Regions from separate parts of the Homo sapiens genome. Here all the other regions are linked to region 2. The links are contacts of gene promoters, found by promoter capture Hi-C in blood cells and fetal thymus (Javierre and others, 2016). All regions are on one chromosome and are shown on one strand. Each heading gives the region's core, a stretch centred on a gene start or on the middle of the fragment in contact. The rest is flanking DNA. Distances are from core to core; before and after follow the strand shown. Region 1 has its middle 57 kb from the start of LINC01940. Region 2 holds the start of COPS9 (COP9 signalosome subunit 9). Region 3 holds the start of ASB1 (ankyrin repeat and SOCS box containing 1).

Region 1 (4,280 bases), core at 428-2,927, 1.2 Mb after region 2:
CACCGCTGCAGGAGCTCTGTAGGGACGGGTTGAATGGCTGTGGCAGCGGAGAGGTTAAATTAGGAGATTCATATTGACCCCCCTAAAAAGTACTGTCCCTTGAACGGTCGCTCAGTAGAACAGGGTCTTCTTGGCTCTGCAGCAGCCCCGTGGAGCCTGGGATGAGCGGTCCTGAAGTTTGAGCAATTGCAAGGGCGAGGTCAGGGGGCGCTGGGGACCCTGCCTCCCAGCAGGAGGGGAAAGACCCTCCCTGAGGGGCCCGCGCGGGCTTTGATTGTGTGCCCAGACTGAACACGTCCATCCTGGGTAACCTCTGGGGTAAATACTCAAACTCCCTGGGCCCCAGCTCTATGGTGGGGCCTCCCGCTGAGCGCCAGGGGCCGGCAGCCCCCATCCCCACATTCCTGTTCGGTTTTTGTGTTGCGCCCCTGACATTTGTGTCTCTCCCGAGGCCCACCTCGCCTGTTTTTACGAGATGGCTGGACGTGGGAAGGCCCACGCTTGGACGCTGGCTTTGTCCTTTCTGGTATGAAGATAGCTGGCTTGCGAGTTAGTAAACTCATAAACTTGGTCTTATAAACACTCATCATTCCAAATGTGACATCACCTCTATGTACATACATCTTCTTAAACCCAAATATGCAAAAATACCTCCCAAGCAGCTGCCACATTGCAGAGAATTTAATTAAAGGAAAGGCCCCTTTTGGAAATGTGTTTATTTTACCATAAAAAGGGATGGAGTTGCCCTTTCTGGAAGTTTTTCTCTCTAATTAAGCTTAGCCCTGATTACCGCTCTGGAGGTGGCACCCGTAGGAGTCCTGGAGGGAATGTCTCTGGGCTGATAAAACCCAGGACAGTTCAATGAAAGCCAACACAAACGGACTCAAAAGCTGTGTGATTTTTACAAAGGAGGAGAAGATGAAAGCCCTTTGGTACAAAACAAAATATGTATTTTTAAAAATTATGGTTAAGCACATGCTCATTGACCTGGATTCTGCCAGCGTCATGCATGGTTCCGTACTTCTGTAGGAAAAGCAGCTCCCCACCAACCACAAAAATGACTGTGTCTCACTATAGATGCACATGTTGAAGCTTTCTTCAGTCAAGTCAGAGACCTTGAATGCTTATTTTTTCTCAAATTTTGATATATGTTATTTGACAATAATTTATTTCTAAACAAAAATATTTCCTCTTCAAATCATTCAGACCCTTTCTTGGAAAACAGGTGAAAACATTGAACAGGATCATTTAATATTGACCCTGCTCACAGCAGAGTTAGATGGTGGATCCTGACTCAGTCTTATAGCTGAGAAGAGAGAAGCCAGGTTGGAAGCTGAGTGATCTCCATGCTTCCTTTAGTTACCTGTTGCAGAGTGAGAAGCTGACTACACAGATGGACACTGGTCAGACCGTGTATACAAACAGAGCGGCCGGGCGTGGTGGCTCATGCCTGTAATCCCAGCGCTTTGGGAGGCCGAGGCGGGCTGATCGCCTAAGGTCAGGAGTTCAAGACCAATCTGGCCAACATAGTGAAACCCCGTCTCTACTAAAAATACAAAAAAAAGTAGGTGGGTGTGGTGGCGCACACCTGTAGTCCCAGCTACTGGGGAGGCTGAGGCAGGAGAATTGCTTGAAACCGGGAGGCAGAGCTTGCAGTGAGCCGAGATTGCGCCATTGCACTCCAGCCTGGGTGACAAGAGCGTGACTTCGTCTCAAAACAAACAAACAAACAAAAACAAAGCTCTGGCCTGCAACCTGCGGCAACCAGCCCCGGAAACCCACCCCTTTCCTACAGTGACCAGCCCCGAGGCCAGCTTGCTGTCAATAAGCCAGATGTGGAGGAAGGCAGGCCACCATCTCCAGCAACCTGTCCAGGAAGCCAAACAAGAGCCTTTGTAACAACTGACCCCAAGTGGCCAGGATTCAATGAACAGCTGACATCTTCCCTAATTTTTGTCCCTGCTTCTAACATAGGACCAACTAGAGAAAGCCAAATATACCCATAACCACCCACATGGGTGTCCTGCTTTTAGTGAGCTGTGTTCAGCTCCCCCACTATTCACAGATATTATGATTGTGTGCCTAAAAGTACATAAAGAATCTAAGTTGAATTTATTAGAATTAATAAGAATGTAACAAGTTGCTGGATACAAAATCAATATACAAAGATCAATTACATTTTACATTCCAGAAACAACTAGGGAAAAAAACAGAAAAACAAACCATTTTTTAAAAAAAATGAAGTCCCTGGAAATAAGCTTGAACAAAATGCATATGAATTCTATGATGGAAAAAGAGAACTTTTTATAAAGACATTATTTATTTATTCATTTATTTATTTTATTTGTTTGGTTTTTTTTTTTTTTTTTTTTTTTTTGAGATCGTCTTGCCTTATCCCTCAGGCTGGAGTGCAGTGGTGCGATCTCAGCTCACTGCAACGTCCACCTTCCAGGTTCAAGTGATTCTTCTGCCTCAGCCTCCCAAATGGAAGAATACATTAAGTTCATGGATGAGAAATAGCTAATATATGAAGATGTAAATTCTTCCCAAATAGGTATGTAGATTTCATGCAATCCCAGTCAAAAAGTCCATAGTTTTTAACGCTTATACACTGTTGGTGGGAGTATAAATTAGTTCAACCATTGTGGAAGACAGCAAGGTAATTCCTCAAAGACCTGAAGACAGAGATACCATTCAACCCAGCAATCCCATAGGTATATACTCAAAGGAATATAAATCATTCTATTATAAAGACACATGCACGGGTATGTTCGTTGCAACACTATTCACAATAGCAAAGACATGGAATCAACCTAAATGCCCATCAATGATAGACTGGGTAAAGAAAATATGATACATATACACAATATAATTATGTAGCCATAAAAAAGAATGAGATCATGTCCTTTGCAGCAACATGGATAGAGCTGGAGGCCATGATCCATAGCAAACTAACACAGGAACAAAAAACCAAATACCACATGTTCTTACTTATAAGTGGGAGCTAAATGATGAGAACACAGGGACATATAGAGGGGAACAACACACACTGGGATCCATTGGAGGGTGGAGGGTGGAAGGAGGGAGAGGATTAGGAAAAATAATTAATGAGTACTAAGCTTAATACTTGGGTGATAAAATATCTGTACAACAAACCCTGTGACACAGATTTACCTATGTAGCAAACCTGCACGTGCACCCCTGTACTTAAAATAGAAGTTTTTTAAAAAACCTCTAAAAAACCCCCAAAAACAAAGCGTCCATAGTTTTTTTTGGGAGGGGTGGAAGGCAAGGGTTAGGGTGGAATTTGACACCAAATGACACTAAAATGTATATGAAAACATGAAGGGCCAAGAAGAATTAAGCCATTTTTGAAAAATAATCACAAAGGTTGGCCTCATTGTTTACAGGTAGTGGCAGCAGTAGCAGTCTTAGTATCTGAAGCAGTTAAAATAATACAGGGAAGAGATCTTACTGTGTGGACATCTCATGATGTGAACGGCATACTCACTGCTAAAGGAGACTTATGGCTGTCAGACAACCGTTTACTTAAATATCAGGCTGTATTACTTGAAGGGCCAGTGCCGCAACTGCGCACTTGTGCAACTCTTAACCCAGCCACATTTCTTCCAGACAATGAAGAAAAGATAGAACATAACTGTCAACAGGTGATTGCTCAAACCTACGCTGCTCGAGGGGACCTTCTAGAGGTTCCCTTGACTGATCCCGACCTCAACTTGTATACTGATGGAAGTTCCTTTGTAGAAAAAGGACTTCAAAAAGCGGGGTATACAGTGGTCAGTGATAATGGAATACTTGAAAGTAATCCCCTCACTCCAGGAACTAGTGCTCAGCTGGCAGAACTAATAGCCCTCACTCGGGCACTAGGATTAGGAAAAGGAGAAAGGGCAAATATATATACAGACTTTAAGTATGCTTACCTAGTCCTCCATGCCCACACAGCAATATGGAGAGAAAGGGAATTCCTAACCTATCAAACATCAGGAAGCCATTAGGAGATTATTATTGGCTGTACAGAAACCTAAAGAGGTGACAGTCTTACACTGCCAGGGTCATCAAAAAGGAAAGGAAAGGAAAATAGAAGGGAACTGCCCAGGGGATATTGGAGCCAAAAGAGCTGCAAGGCAGGACCCTCCATTAGAAATGCTTATAGAAGGACCCCCAGTATGAGGTAATCCCCTCCAGGAAACCAAGCCCCAGTACTCAGCAAAAGAAATGGGGAACCTCACGAAGACATAGTTTCCTCCCCTCAGCATGGC
Region 2 (4,257 bases), core at 618-3,117:
CTGCCAGCTTCTCCCTGCGTCCCACACTGTCCACTCAGGCCAGGCGGCCCCTTTTCAGGCCACACACACCCCTCACATTTCAGCTCAATTCCTGTCCCTGGAACTACCCTCATCCATGCCGCCCCCCACTCCCCTTCTCTACAGCCTAACCCCCAAACCCAACTCCTCTAAGGCCTGTTAAAGGAAAACATTATTGGAAATTTTCAGAAGTTGTTCCGAACCCTGGAGACGGGTGTGGGGACCACTGCAACGGGATCTTGCAGTGGGGGAGGGAGACCAGGCTCAGCTCCGAACAGCACAGGCAGTGGGGGTTTGCGGCTGAGGAGCAGGTGGGGTCGCGGGTGGCAAATGACTGGGAGGAACACAGTGCGGGACGGGATGCTGGCTCGGCCGACCCCGCAGGGCTTTCGCTGAAGACAGGTCTGGGCCATCAGACATCCTGGGGATGCTGGGGGACCAGGAACCCGATCCAATATCCAGGGTGGGGGGCTCTGGCTAAACCAACTTAGCAGGGCTCTCTGCGAAAACTGAACCTGACAATGCAGTGCACAGATGGGCCTGGGAGGAGGTTAGGAGGCCACCGAAGTCTGGCTGAGCAAGGAATCTTTGGCAAAGTCTAGTTCCAGGACCTGTTGCTCTCTCTCCTTCCCTCCCCTGTTCTTCCTCTCTCCCTCTCTTCCTCCAACCTTCTCCCTCCTCTTACCCCTTTCCTTCTCCTTTCCCTCGCATTTCTGTCACATTCTTTTTTGTTGTTTTTTTCATTACGGTAAAACTTCACAAATTGTTTCCATCTTAACCACATTTCAGTGACGTTAAGCACATTCACGAACTGTGCAGCCATCACCAGCAGCCTCTACAGATCCTTTTCATCTGTCAAGGCTGAAAATCTGTCCCCACTAAACACGAACTCCCCATTTCCCCTTCCCCAGACCCTGATAACCCCCTTCTACTTTCTGTCTCTATGACTTTGACTCCTCTAGGGGCCTCGGCTGAGTGGAATCATGCGGTGTTTGTCTTAGGACTGGCCCGTTTCCCTCGGCAGAGCGTCCTCAATGTTCCTGCGCGTGGCAGCAGGTGTCGGCATTCCCTTCCTTTTAAAGGCTGAGTAATGTTCCACAGTGTGCATGGCCCACATTTGCTTATGCACGTATCCATCGATGGGCAGGGACAGCGGGGGACGCTTCCCTTTTTCATTTATTATAAATAACGCTGCTGTGAACGTGGGGTAAAGACGCCCCTTGGAGCCTCGGCTTTTGGTCCTCTGGGCTTGTGCCCGGAAGGGGAGTGCTGGGCCACGTGGGTGTCCGTGTTTGATTTTCTGGGACCTGCCCCCCCCCGTCTCCCGCCCCGGCTGCCGCGTCTCACTCCCCGCCGCGGTGCGAGGGGCCCCGTGTGCCGCGCACCCTTCCACCCGTGTTTTGCTGTTTTTTTGACTCTGGGCGTCCCAGGGGTGCAGCGGCCGTGGGGCCCTGGTTTGCTTTCACCTCTTCATCTGCTCACTGGCCGCGAGTGTGTCTTCTTCAGACAAACGTCTGAAGGTCAAGCCCTGGGCTCCTGTGAACCCGGCCGTCTTTGCGGCAGAGTCTGAGGCTCCTTCTTTATTCTGGATCCGGCCTCTGGTCGGAGGCGTGCTCTGCAGGCACTGCTCCCATTGCTGGCAGCCTTTTCTCCCCGTGGCCGCCCGGCCGCCCATCAGAGGCGTTGCAGACGCCCGCCCTCGCCAGCGCAAAGACAAACGCCGGTGGCCGCGGACGCGCCGGCGGCCGGGAGCACCCCAGCGGGCGGGCACCACAGAGGCGCGGTCCTCCGGCGTCTAGATCTGCCATGTGGCGCGCGCCGGAAGCGGCTCTGAGGCCGGAAGTGAGCCTAGAGCGCCGCGGCCCCGAGATGAAGCCGGCGGTGGACGAGATGTTCCCCGAGGGCGCCGGGCCCTACGTGGACCTGGACGAGGTGGCACGGGCCCGGCGGGAGTCTCCGAGCGTGGGGAGCGGGGAAGGGGGAGCGGAAGGGCGGCGTCCTGGTGCGCGGGTCCCGGGGAGGGGAGGCCGGGCGGGTGGGCGATGGGCGCGGCTCCCAGGCTCCCTGCCCCGCGGAGAGCAAATCCCGGTTTCTCCGAGCACCTGGTGAAAGGCGGCGACCGACCGCGGCGGGAAGCGTGTGCCCTAGCCCGGGGGACCAGGAGGCGCAGCCTGAGGGTTGAGTGCCTGCTGGGTGCCCCCACGGCCCCCGGGAACACACCCGTGGTCAGAGGAGTTGCGTTTGCTGCTCTTCGATGGCTGCAGCACCCCATGGGGGCCCGCGGTGCGTCTCCATAACCTCGTGTGGGATTTGAGCTCGTGTTAGGGGATTTGGGGGAAGAAAGTGGGCTTTACTGTGCCTTGGAAGCGAGGATAATTCTCCGATTGGGCCTCTTAATCTTAACTAGAATGAGGGAAGACTGGAGCAGCCGTCATTCCTGTCGGAGCGGAAAAGGAGACATCTGGCATTTATGTGCTTTGCGTAGTGGCCTCGTTCTTCTTTTTAATTATACAGGATTATACAGTCGTCTTGGGGTTTTGTTGGTCTCTATTGTGTTCACAGAGTGACCTTGTCTGATGTGAGCGTTCTGAGATGGTTTATGGTCAGCAGGAGAGCACCACAGCCTAGCTCAGAGTGGCAGGCCAGCTCCTACATGTCAGGGCCTTATGTGCTCTTTCTCAAAGCTTAGGGGCTGCAGAGGTGGTCAGAGGCAGCCCTTGTGCTTGTGGAGGTAATAGCATGGCAGAGCGGCTGATTGCAAATACCAGGTGTCATAGAAAGCCGAAGGCGCACCGACGGATGGACCCTCAGGGCTTTGAGGGGGCTCAGCAAAGGTACAGCTGAGGAGTCGACTCTGTGGCCAAATGCTGGGGGACACATTGGTGTTTGCCAGGTAGTGGGGGATGAAGGCCCGGCAGGAGCAGAGCCCTGGGTTGGGGGATGCCGACTGGCTCACCAAGGGAAGGGAATGTTGTGTCGTTTAACATGGTTGAGCGTGCAGTGCCAGAGAGAGGGGAGACAGTGGGTAGGGACTCTCTCCCTACCCAGATCGTGAAACCATCTGGAACCATGCTAAAGAGGGTGGCTCTGTGCACCCCGCTCCCGAAGCACTTCCATTAAACCCAGGCTTCTCAGTCCTGTTTTACAGTCCTAGGCTTCACAGTCCTAGGCGATGTGGAGCCACCGGAGGGCTTTACAGTGGGGAGTGAGAGGCTCCGACTTGCTCTGTAGGGTGGCAGCATTTACGGGTGAGAGGGTAGAAAAATGAGAGCAGGGAGAACAGGAGAGTTGAAGAGGGTGTGAATGAGGCAGATGGAGGTAGGGACAAGCTTCAAGTGGTAGAATGCGCGTGGCTTACTGTGCTGATGGGGACAGGGAGGGTGGCTGAGAAGCCAGGGGAGGAGACTGAGTGTCCTGGCTTTTCTGAGAGTGTCTGAAAGGGAACAAGGGCATGCAGCTATGTGGGGATCAGGGCAGGTCTGAGCAAGCGGCCTTGTGAATGCTGGGGCCAGGGCAGCAGCAGGACCTGTGGCCAGCTGTCCAGGGTGCTGCTGTCAGAGGAATCTGCTCCCTCTGTCACCGGTTGACTCTAAACAGGACCCAAAATCCTGAGGGCTTCAGATTGCCCAGCTTGGGTTGTGACATGGTTTTTCCACTGCCGTGGAGTTGTGGCAGTGGACGGTCCATGATAGCAGCGGGGCACCAGAACCTCAGAGGCAGAGCAGGTCAGTTTCCTCGGGGAAGTGGTTTCATTCCCAGAAGAGAGAGGGAAGGGATCCTGAGTGGAGGCGATGGGCTCAATTTCGCATGTTTGTGGCCTCTGGCGATGTCCGGCGAGGGATCGGAAAGCTCTCCTTGAGGGGCACAGAGAAGTAGTGGTGCTTAGGTCAGTGGTAGGTTTCTTTTTTAAAGGCAGACAGGAATCAAGGAACAGAAGCCCTTGAGAGACCTTAAAAATCATTCCTTTGAATTCCTCCCCCTCCCCCCAATACACATTCCTGTGTCTGGAACTAAAATGTTGACTCCAACTTGAGCCTGTTTCCCCTCACCCATCTTCTTTTTTTGTGGGGGTAGTGGCCCTGCAATGCACTTATCACCTGTTCTTTCGGAAAACGCACCTGACATAACCTTGCCTTTCCATTCCCCAGGCGGGAGGCAGCACCGGGCTCTTGATGGACTTGGCAGCCAATGAAAAGGCCGTTCATGCAGACTTTTTTAACGGTAAGGATGCTTGGAATG
Region 3 (3,971 bases), core at 1,168-3,667, 1.7 Mb after region 2:
AGTTACACAGATTCGTGTGTAAGTAAAGAGCAAAAACTCAGACCACTTGGATTCAAGTCCCTGCTCTGCCATGCTGTCCTAGTGTGAGACCAGACAGGCAGGTATAAAGCACCCCCTCCATAAGGGGGCTCTTTCCAGATGCTGACATTGTTTTTTATATTAAAATTAATCTCTTTTCAGTACTACTGTACATGAGACTCAACCACAGGTGAAACGGGGGTGATGAGTAAGTGTCCCGGCTCTGCAGGGTTTGACAGTCCACTGAGTTGCTCATGCTGATCCCACAACCAGACTCGCCGCAGATCAACAAGCCGGCATGAACAGCTCTTTAAGCCACCACCCCAGTCTTCCTTCAGTAACTATCCTCCCCTGTAATTACTCCACAGTTGCGGTTACTACAGAGTGAAAAAGTTCAAAGTCGGAGTGGGAAAGATTCAGGTGTAGGGCAATAACCAACAGGTAAATGGCGGCCACAGGACTTTTGCTGAGCCCTCTTCTGGGCCCCCTCTGCTGGCCTCTGTGCTATCCATTCCTGGCCCTGCTCAAAGTAGACTCAGAATCTTTCCCCAGCTCCAGATTCAAAAGCAACTTCAAGTTTGTGTTTCGCTGATCAACTACTCCAATGACAACACAACTGCCCCAGGATAGCACTTAAGCTTCAACTGAAAATCTGTTGCCCCTCTACCCGAGGCCGAAACACACTGAATAACAAAACAGCAGTGCATGAGGATATAAAAAGGAGCCCTCAGCTGAGTGTGGTGGCTGCCGCCTGTAATCCCAGCACTTTGGGAGGCAGAGGCGGGCAGATCACCTGAGGTCTAGAGTTCGCTATCAGCCTGGCCAATATGCCAATATGGTGAAGCCCCGTCTCTACTAAAATACAAAAATTAGCCGGGCATGATGCCAGCACCTGTAATCCCAGCTACTAGGGAGGCTGAGGCCAGAGCATCGCTTGAACCCCCGAGGCGGAGGCTGCAGTGGGCCGAGATCACGCCACTGCACTCCACCCTGGGCAACAAGAGCGAAACTCCGTCTCAAAAAAAAAGGAGACCTGTGCAGCCGACAAAGCCAGTGTTTATTCCCCAGGAACTCTCTTTATACTGGGAAGTAGCTGTTGGTCCTCTTTTTCCCACGGAACACGCATCATTCCGTCTCTCACTCTCACATGAGATGACATCCTAGACCCTAAGGTCCTGGCTGTCTCTGAAGTCAAAGTCAACGCCAACCAAAGCCCAGGATGGTAGATGCTTTGTCTGGCTTTTTCTGGTCACTGCAGTATCCTCTGCTGGGTCTAGCCAACAGCAGGTCTTCAATACAAGTCTGTTAAATGATTGGAAGGAGGTGCAGAGGGAGGGATGGATGGAAAAGCCTATCTGCACCAGTCTCCAAGTCAATCTTTTAAGATGTTTAAGAAATGTATTGGTTTATTACTAAGTAGGAGAGGAACCCCTCCAAAGACAAATATAGGCATGTAAAGAAAGCCCAGAACACACGAAACTATTGGCGCGAATGGCAAGCTCAGAAATCCAGCAAGAAGGAACTCCCACCACACCACCGGGAAACGGGAACCTGTCCTGACCGCTTCCTTCACATCTGCATGGTAGGGACACTGCAAGGTGGAGACCCTAAGTAGGACAGTTATTTTGGAAGGTGGGTGTGAGCCTTTCTATCTGCCTCCCTTGCTGGTGGGCCAAAGGCCCCTGGACATGTTGTGTCACTGACGAGCTCGCTGGAGACGGCGTCCCCGTTGTCCCTGGTCTGTGCCTGTGGTGGGTGGGAAGGCTGCCCCCCGCTGTACCACCGGACACGCCGTGGGCGGCAGAATGGTGAAAAAGTGCCTGCCCTCCCTAGGGCTACCCTCTGGCTGGCTTTCCTGATCCGTGCGCTCAGAGCTGGAAGGTGGCCCACGTCCTACTTTTGCGGTTGGGTCATATCAAATCTGTATCGGCTAACGGGAAGGAAGTTACGAGCAAGTTCCACCGGAAAGAAAATCTAGCGCGGGGACTGCACTCGAGGCCGAGGAGAGGGCAGCGCGTCCGTGGTGGGGTCGCCCAGCACTGCGAGCCGCGCTGAACCCCACCCCCGGCCTGCAGGGTGCGGCTCCCTGGCTGCCCCGTGGACCCGGCCAGCCCGGGACGAGGACGCAGGACCTCGGCAGGGACGCCGGAGCCAGCCCTTCGCCATCCCCACACGCCCCGCGGCCCAGTGGCCGCGCGCACGTTACCTGCGGAGCCCGGCCCTGCCCGCCCGTCTGGGCTGCCGCCCTCCGCCATGGATGCTTCCGCCTCCGCGGCCGCCCCTGACCCGCGCACGCCCCTCGGGCAGGAAGCAGAACGACCCGCGACCACTTCCGGCGCCGAGGGCAATGGGGGGCGCGTCGGGGTCGCGGCTTCCGGCGGGCGCGCGCCGGCCTCACTGGTTTCCGGGGCCGCGCAGGGGCCACGCCTCCGCTTCCGGCCTCGCTGTCTAGCAGGGCGCTGGCTGGTCCCTTCGTCCGGCGGGAACTTCGCGGCTAACCGACTCTCTGGATGCCGGCCGCGCTGTGGTTTCCTCACATAAGAAGCCAAGGAGTCGGAAAGCCCGTTGCCTGAGGCAGCAGTCTGGGAATTTCGGTCCGGCGGGCCGTCCCCACCCACACGGACGGGGCGTGGCTTCTGCCAGATGTGGGCGGGGCCCCGAGGGCCGTGGCGGGCGGGACCCGGGCCTCGGCCGGGCTGGCTTGGTCCCCGCAGGTGCCCCCCGCTAGCCACGAGCAGCCCCGGGAGGGTGGATTCGGAGGCGCGGGGACTGGTGAGGGCCCACTGCAGGGCTGAGCGTCGCAGCGTGCTGTGGTTTTAGATGAATGCTCCTCCAAATCCCTTCCATGAAGCCCTCAATCAGGTCGGTAACTGATGACAGCCAGTGGCTGACGCGAAGTTCATTGAATAAATGAATGCATTCGTGAACAACCGAGTAACATTTCTTGCACACTCCCAACTTCAAATATCGCAGCGTCGTCCCACCATGAGTATTGGTGTTGGTCCTAAAGCACGGATTCCCTTGGCTCCTCCCATTCTCCCCTGCTGAGTTAGACAGCGGGGCCTCATGCAGGAGGAGGATTTGTACACAGCACAGCAGGAGGCTGATGAGGGAGTCCGGAGACCCCAGCAGTCGTGGGCGTGAGCTGCTGGCTCATCCGTGTGTACAACATTCCAGACTGGAGTAAGGGAAGCCGCAGGCGCAGCCCCGCGAGTGCCCCTGCTGAGGCTGGCCCTGGGTGGCCCAGATGCACCAGGGGGCCCACTGGGGGCAGACCTGGCAGGCCCTGTGGGGGTTGGAGGCGGGAGTGGGGGTACTTCCTACAGTGGTGTTTGGTCTTGATGACAGCAGAGAGCACCACTGGCATGAGGGACAGGTGACTCCGATGATGACGCTGCCAGGCCAGGAGCCAGGGGTGTGCCCAGCCCCTGGCTCCACCACAGCTGCACATCCCGAACTCGGAGCTTCAGCAACTCCGAAGCCTGAAGCCGCCTCACGTGTTGTTGGATGGATGAATGGATAAACGAAATGCCGTCCATCCATACAATGGAATCGTACTCAGCCTTAGAAAGGAAATGCTGTCCGTCCATACAATGGATTCGTACTCAGCCTTAGAAAGGAAGGGAATCCTGACACACGTCACAACACGGATGACCTTGAAGACGTTATGCTGAGTGAGATAAGCCAGCCACAAAAAGACAAATACAGTACTGTGTGATTCCAATTATTTGAGGTCCCTGGAGCAGTGAAATGGTGGAGCGGAATGGGGGTTGCCAAGGGCTGGGGGAGTGGGGAATGAGGAGTTAGTTTTTCATGGGGACAGAGCTTCAGTTGAGGAAGATGAAAAAGTTTTGGAGACGGGTCACACAGCAATGTGAATTGTGCATTAACAGTACTGAACTGCGCATTTAAAGCAGGTTAAGTTTTATGTTCTATATATTTTACCACAATTG

What was found. The method cuts DNA at HindIII sites, captures the fragments that hold promoters and counts their contacts. A CHiCAGO score of 5 or more calls a contact.
Region 1: a contact is called between a fragment that was not itself captured here and the fragment with the promoter of COPS9 in region 2, in 2 of 17 cell types (neutrophils and M0 macrophages). The highest score is 6.9, in neutrophils.
Region 3: a contact is called between the fragment with the promoter of ASB1 here and the fragment with the promoter of COPS9 in region 2, in 3 of 17 cell types (total B cells, fetal thymus and naive CD8 T cells). The highest score is 11.6, in total B cells.

What each region holds. Positions count from the first base shown.
Region 1 is chr2:238,981,522-238,985,801 of GRCh38, reverse strand. No RefSeq gene overlaps it. Among named protein-coding and RNA genes, the nearest start is that of LINC01940, 57 kb to the right of the region's middle. RefSeq lists an enhancer at 1-822. The HindIII fragment of the contact is 1,166 bases long and covers 1,095-2,260 here.
Region 2 is chr2:240,133,915-240,138,171 of GRCh38, reverse strand. It overlaps COPS9 (COP9 signalosome subunit 9), which reads left to right and starts at 1,867. Exons shown (of 3, transcript NM_001163424.2): 1 at 1,867-1,950; 2 at 4,167-4,239. The coding sequence starts at 1,888. RefSeq lists enhancers at 1,346-1,455, 1,466-1,565 and a silencer at 2,006-2,055. The HindIII fragment of the contact is 4,227 bases long and covers 1-2,704 here.
Region 3 is chr2:238,425,373-238,429,343 of GRCh38, reverse strand. It overlaps ASB1 (ankyrin repeat and SOCS box containing 1), which reads right to left and starts at 2,417. Exons shown (of 5, transcript NM_001040445.3): 1 at 2,225-2,417. The coding sequence starts at 2,273. It overlaps LOC124908002 (a long non-coding RNA gene), which reads left to right and starts at 2,450. Exons shown (of 2, transcript XR_007088163.1): 1 at 2,450-3,971. RefSeq lists enhancers at 1,669-1,788, 3,301-3,836 and silencers at 2,039-2,558, 2,579-2,968. The HindIII fragment of the contact is 6,850 bases long and covers 659-3,971 here.